Linked DNA regions of Homo sapiens: region 1 is linked to region 2. The links are contacts of gene promoters, found by promoter capture Hi-C in blood cells and fetal thymus (Javierre and others, 2016). All regions are on one chromosome and are shown on one strand. The core of a region is centred on a gene start or on the middle of the fragment in contact, and the rest is flanking DNA. Distances in the headings are between cores, read along the strand shown.

Region 1 (3,105 bases), core at 96-2,595, 310 kb after region 2:
CGAGGGTAGGCCACCTACTGCTTCTGAGGTCCCTGGGTCCTGCACATCCCTAGCTGGGGTCAATCCTGGTCAGAGGAGCTGCCTGAGGCCCCAGAGGAGAACTGCCCTCTGGGCATTGCTGCACAGTGTCCCAGAACTCAGGGCCTCCTGACTATGCCTCCCTAGGAATGACCACATATGCACACACAACCCCCCATTTTCTTCTCTCTGCATTGCTCTCTTCCCTTTCTCCTCCCAATGCCTTCCTTTCCTTCCACCCTCAATGTCCTCACCATTGTCTTGAAGAACTGATTGACCTTCTTCCGTGTGAGTGTCTTCTTGTCACCATCTGAGAGTTGGAGGAAGGTCTGGCTGAGGCGGGGAGATGTGTTGGCCTCATCCAACCCAGGGATGCCTGCCACTGAGAGCGCCAGGGCTGGAAGGAGAGCAGAGCTGGGGTGTGAATGGGTGGGTAGAGGAGGGGCAGTGCCTTGGGGGAGGTAGACAGGGGGAGGGCTGGGGGACAGAGCCAGCATCCAGGGATCACACATTGTATGTGCCAAGCAGGAGGCAGGATGCCTATTTCCTGCCGTGCCAGGGGACATTGAAGCTGTCCTCTTGCAGTGAAGATTGCCCACCCTACAGACAAGGGTTCAGCCTCCTGGCTCCTGGTCAAAACCTTGCCCCAAAGCCCTGACATCCCCAGGAAACAGAACCTTCTGCTCCAAGGCAGGGGACAGTGTGAGCTTACTCTTCCTCCAGCTCCCAACACCAACACCCTGGATTTCTCTCCCCATTGCAGGAGACAGCGGGAAGAGAGTCTCAAACCCACGTGTCACCTGGTGGAGGGGCCAGATGACCTAGTGGTTACAGCCCCAGCTTGGCGTCACAGAGACATGAAAAATTAGTTACTCTCTGACTGCTGGTTTTGACATTGGCCAAATGGGAGAAAGAGCCCAGACCGCCAGGGTGTGGTGAGACCTGCTGAGCAGATACCAGTGAAATGGCTTGGGCCAAATGTTGCAGCTGTGTTCAGGCTATCCTGGGGGTGGTGGCGGGGCAGTGGGTAGGTGCCTGTTCCAGGGAAGAGGGCCTGGGTCTGAACTCAGTCTCTGCCATTTGCTGGCTGGTGATAGGCAAGAGAGTGATGTTCTCAGTGCCCCAGTTTCCTCATCCATACAATGGGGTGGATAACATGAACTACTTCCTGGGTATGCGCAGTGGAGTAAATGAAATAAAGAAGGAGTAGCAGTTGGCGCAGGGCCTGGCACCCTCAATGTTCAGGAAACAGCAAGCGTCTTCACCATGATCGGCCTGCTGAGTTCCACAGGGCAGCACTGGTCCTGTCTTGTTCCCTTCTGACCTGGCCCTTAGCACACAGAGCCAGGCACATAGCAGCAGACGTCAAGGACTTCTGCCTACCAGATGGAGTGCTCTCAGGCATGCCATGTCCCCTGTTAGGGCCTCAGATTCCCTTCTGTGAGTTAGGACCATCGGCTGTGCTCTAACCTCCTCACTGGACAGTGAGTGAGTGACGACGGTGGCAGATAGGTAGCATCTATGCACCAAACACTTTGCAGCTATAAGATGTGGTGGCCATTTCTGTAAAGCCAGAAAGAGTCTTCCAGGTCCACAAAGAAGCCACAGGTCTTAGGGACATACCAAGGGCAAACTTCTGGCCCCTGGGGAGGCCTGGCTAACTGAGAACAAGGGGCCACCTAGTGTGACAAATGGATGCTCAGTGAATCCTGAGGGCCCAAGGGACAGCAGGCCTCTCCCCTGTCCCTGCTGGAGCTTGCTGGGATGGTGTCACCCCCAGGAAGTGGTGGGTGTGGGGAGAGATTAGAGGGTGGGTGGCTATGAGCAGAGCCTCTCACTCCAGGATGCCTGGCCCACTTTGTTGTGTAGACACAGTTCCCATCCATCCTCCACCCACAAGGCTGGTGGCCTGCACTATCTCTACTCCCTCATGCTGGTGGCAGCAGGGGGCATACCTGGGATGGTAGGCATGGACTGGCTGGCAAAGCTCATTTGAGAGAGGACAGACGCCTTGAGGGGGATGGCCGCATGCTCCGAGAGGTTGGTGTCACTCATGAACTCATGCTTCCTGGAAAGCTGGAGGAATACACCAGACACACACACACACACACAAAGACAGAGGCTTAGCATGAGGCAGATCTGGGTCTCTGAAAGATCAGTGAGGAGGGCGTGGCATGGTTTCTATGAAGCTGGCTCCAAGTTCATTTATTCTGTATTATACCATTCCATGCCAGCCTGCCACATATGGTTGCACAGGTTGCACACTACACAACTACAGGCGGGGGTGGCGGACATTCATTTAGACTATCATGTAAATGGTGTCCCCTAGAATCGACAAACACAGAAGACATTTCCATTCTTATCCATCCACGCAAGAGTAGCCTGCGAGGCCCACTGGGAAGTTTCTGGAGGGCCCTTTCTTCACTAAGGCATCTTGGTTGGCCCCTTGCTCTTTCATTTGGCACCCCTCCCTTGCCAGGGCAGTTAATCCATCTCCCACTCCCAGGTTCCCAGAACACTTCCAACAAACCTCTTTTCCAGGGGGAAACTAAGATTGAATCCAGGGCTGTCTGAAACCAAGTCTCATTTTTAAATAATCGTTAGTTTACAAGACCAACACTCTCAAAGCCAGGACAGTGAGATTTCATCCCTGTATCCCCACCTGGACTCCTGGCACACAGGAGGGGCTTGCAGGGGTCTGAGACATCAGTGGTTAGAATAGGCCTGGGGCTGGGGGCTATAGAAACACCTAGCTCAGTACCAAGTGGGCTGCTCTCCCTTTTGGTGGGAGAACAGGTGGATTCTCCCCAGCCTGGAAAAGCCCTGTGTGATGGTGGAAAGGATACACACAGGCTCTGAAGTGCAAAGGTCAGGGCTCAACTCCCAGCTCTGTCATGTCCCAGCCACCCCAGCTGCCTGGGCACGAGTAAGCACTTCACCTCTCAGCTCCTCAGGTGCCGCCTCTGCAATACCCATAGCACCGCAGTGGCAGGCTTCAGGAAGCCCATATCTGGAAGCCCTGGGTTTTGTGCCCAGCATGTAGTGGAAATGTGCTAACAGCGCTGGAGAGGCAATCTGCCTCAGCCA
Region 2 (3,096 bases), core at 95-2,594:
TCTAGTTCTGGCCCCTAGGGTTGCACCAGTGACTTCAAGCCTCCAAGTCTCAGTTTCAGGTTCTTTGATTCTTGGGTCAAGTGAAGGGTGGAGATAAGCTGCCTTCTACCACCACGCCTGATACTTAGGAAAGCCCCAATATCTGGGATTGTTTTTGTTGTTTTGTTGAAAATATATATATATATATATATATTTGTTTTTTTTTTTTGAGACGGGGTCTCGCTCTGTTCAGGCTAGAGTGCAGTGGCACAATCTTGACTCACTGCAACCTCCGCCTCCCAGGTTCAAGCGATTCTCCTGCCTCAGCCTCCCAAGTAGCTGGGACCACAGGCATGCACCACTATGCCCGACTAATTTTTGTATTTTTAGTAGAGATGGGGTTTCGCCATGTTGCCCAGGATGGTCTCAAACTCCTGGGCTTGAGCAATCCATCTACCTTGGCATCCCAAAGTGCTGGGATTATGGGCGTGGGCCACTGTGCCTGCCCTTTGTTGCTGATTTTTAATCCTTACTTCCACTTTACAGATGAAGAAGCAGAGATCTAAAAGCATGTTTTTTGCCTGCAAATGCTGACATTCACTTGTCTTATTGCTAGGAAGAAATCTCTGTACTTTCGCGGTCTCTGGGAGGGCCCCTGGTGAGCAGACTGTCCCTGGACCTGGTTGGAAGCAGTTGTGGAGCTCTCACTACTCCCAGCTTCAGCTCAGTTGGTCCTTAAAAAGTCAGTTCTCTCCCCTTGCCATAAATCCCCACCGTCTCTAACTCCCATCACTACCCTAAAGCAAAGTAGGTTTTAAAAATGCCAGTAACACAAGTGAGAAAACTGAGGTCATTTAACGATAAGTTTGGGAGTAAAACCAAAAACAAAAAAGGAAACTGAGGCCCAGAGAGGTGCCATAACTTGCTCAGGGTCACACAGCACGTAAGTGCCAAAGGCAGGGAGCTGTAGCTGCTCCAGCGTGGATATGCCAGGGACTAGTGACAAGCCCAACCCCTCCAGCCCAACTCCACCCTTCCTCATGCCAACAAAAGGAGAATCATTTCCTATTTCTGGCATCTTTGCCAGCCCACAGAGACAGAGAGAAGAAGAAATATTTCCAAATATACCAGGCTGATCTTTCGTAGTTTCTCAGTCTTGCTGTCTGTTGTTGTTTGAAATCTGTTTCCCACGAGACTCTGGGAAGATGGAGGTGCAGGGCTTGGGTAACAGCTGCCTTCCTCAGGGCTGGGTACCTGCTCTCCGAGTCTGTGTCTCCAGGCTGTGTGCTCAGACTTGACCATGTTTGGGCATGGAGGCTTGCCCCAGATGGGGACCAAAAGCTGCTTCCCTGGAGACGGGCGGGGAGGCCAAACTTCCTGCTGAAGCTCTGTGGCCTCTTTTGGGGTGGGGGCGGGGGTCCAGGCAGAAAGAAACTGTCTGCTGCTCAAGACCCACAGGACGCCGGGAAGACTGTGAGTACCGGGCCTGAAAGCACTTGGGAAGTGATTTCTCTGAAGACCGGGCTGGAGGGAGACAGGGGAAAGCAGCCTGCCACGGGGCAGGGAGGGAGGCAGGCAGGAGGACTCCCTTCCTCTCGGGGCTGTCCTTCTGGATGGAGGGCCCGTGGTCTGGTGGCCAGTGGGGAGGGTGGCACAGTGGCCAGGTTACTCTGGTAGTAAGCGCCCTGGCCCTCTAGGTCCCAGTTCTCAGAGTGGCCAGAAGGCTGCAGCCTGGAGATTAACACCAATGCTGGCACTTGTCACCGGTAGAGAGGTGGGACAAAAATAGATTCATCAAGAGGGGTCCAGACTTCTGCTCCAAACTTTCAGGGTTTCCTTCGTTAGTAGTAATAGCTAATATTTACTGGGGGCTGATTTGGGGCTAGGTGCTATGATACATGTCTGATACTCAATATGGCATTTGATCTTTAGCTGAACTCTCTGAGGCAGGTACCATGGTTCTCGTTTCACAGTCATGTGGTTGCTAAGTGTAAGTGGCAGAGCCAGGATTTGATTCCATGTCTGAGGACCTCAGAATCGCCCTGTCCACACCCCACCAAACTGTTCAACAATGTACTCTATTCCTTGTCCTTCTAAGGAAAAGGATGTCGACCCAGCTATCAGGTCACCCAGGACACTCCAAAGTCCTGCCTTCCTTTGTCCTTCTCCATCTTCTCTGAATCTATCCCAGATCTCAAGTGACCTTTCTAAATGGGAAGATATATCCTGGAACTTCAGAGATATTTAGAAATGCTCAAAACTGGGAAGTTCTTCTTACAGTCTAACTGAAATCCCTCCTATGATAGCTGAAACCCACTTCTTCCTTTTCTTTCTGTCCCTTGGGGGATATTGACAGTTCCCATCCTTCCTCCCGCCAAAGGTTCTCCCTTTGGATGCTGAATACTAACTTCTTGCTGAAGTCATATCTACACTGAACCCCACGCATGGTCTTAGGAGGATTTATCATGACTCTATAAACTCACTCAGTGCAGGCAACAATCTCATCAGACCATTAGAGACGGGTCAGACCTGAATAAGCCAAGTTTCCAGACTTCTCTGTGACAGGGAAGCCTCTCCTTTCCTTTCCTTCTGAGCTCCTAAAACTGGTAAAACCAGGTTCCTGCCTTCACCAGCCTCAGGAGTGCCCAGGGGCCTGAGAGGGCACTAGAAGCCAAATAGCAGAGGAGGCCATGGCCCTGGGCGCTGGGGGGGGCTGATTAGCCAGGAAGGAGCCACAGGAAGCCCCCACAGGTGCGATCCAGTTCCCCCAGGAGAGAAATGGCTTTGTTGTGGGCACTCAGCCCTAGGCTTCCAAGATGGGATTTCCCATTGGCTTCAAATGATTTATGTCTCACAGTATCTGGGGTGGGGCCAAGTGCCAGTGACCCTTGCAGGTCCTGGGGAAGCAGGCTGTTGGGGCTTTTAGCTTACCTCCAGGTGATTCTGTTGCTTTACCTGTGAATACATGGAGAGTCTTGTTCAACTGACGCCAGGTAGAAAAAGGCATGGGCTCTCCCATTCCCACAAGATCACAGAACAGGAGGAAAAGGATTGAATAAAAAGAGTTGAATAAAACATCTCTCTTTGTCGGGGGCAATTTCTGCTTGCTTGTGCTTT

Evidence for each region. The method cuts DNA at HindIII sites, captures the fragments that hold promoters and counts their contacts. A CHiCAGO score of 5 or more calls a contact.
Region 1: a fragment that was not itself captured here is called in contact with the fragment with the promoter of KCNMB1 in region 2 in 2 of 17 cell types (naive CD4 T cells and neutrophils); the score reaches 5.6 in naive CD4 T cells.

What each region holds. Positions count from the first base shown.
Region 1 is chr5:170,079,152-170,082,256 of GRCh38, reverse strand. It overlaps DOCK2 (dedicator of cytokinesis 2), which reads right to left. Exons shown (of 52, transcript NM_004946.3): 50 at 1,974-2,094; 51 at 273-415. Among named protein-coding and RNA genes, the nearest start is that of FOXI1, 25 kb to the left of the region's middle. The HindIII fragment of the contact is 7,937 bases long and covers 1-3,105 here.
Region 2 is chr5:170,387,615-170,390,710 of GRCh38, reverse strand. It overlaps KCNMB1 (potassium calcium-activated channel subfamily M regulatory beta subunit 1), which reads left to right and starts at 1,344. Exons shown (of 4, transcript NM_004137.4): 1 at 1,344-1,452. KCNIP1-OT1 (KCNIP1 overlapping transcript 1) reads right to left here and starts at 1,218. Exons shown (of 3, transcript NR_109899.1): 1 at 1,108-1,218. It also overlaps a transcript of KCNIP1 not described here. RefSeq lists enhancers at 1-303, 2,228-2,728, 2,729-3,096. The HindIII fragment of the contact is 12,470 bases long and covers 1-3,096 here.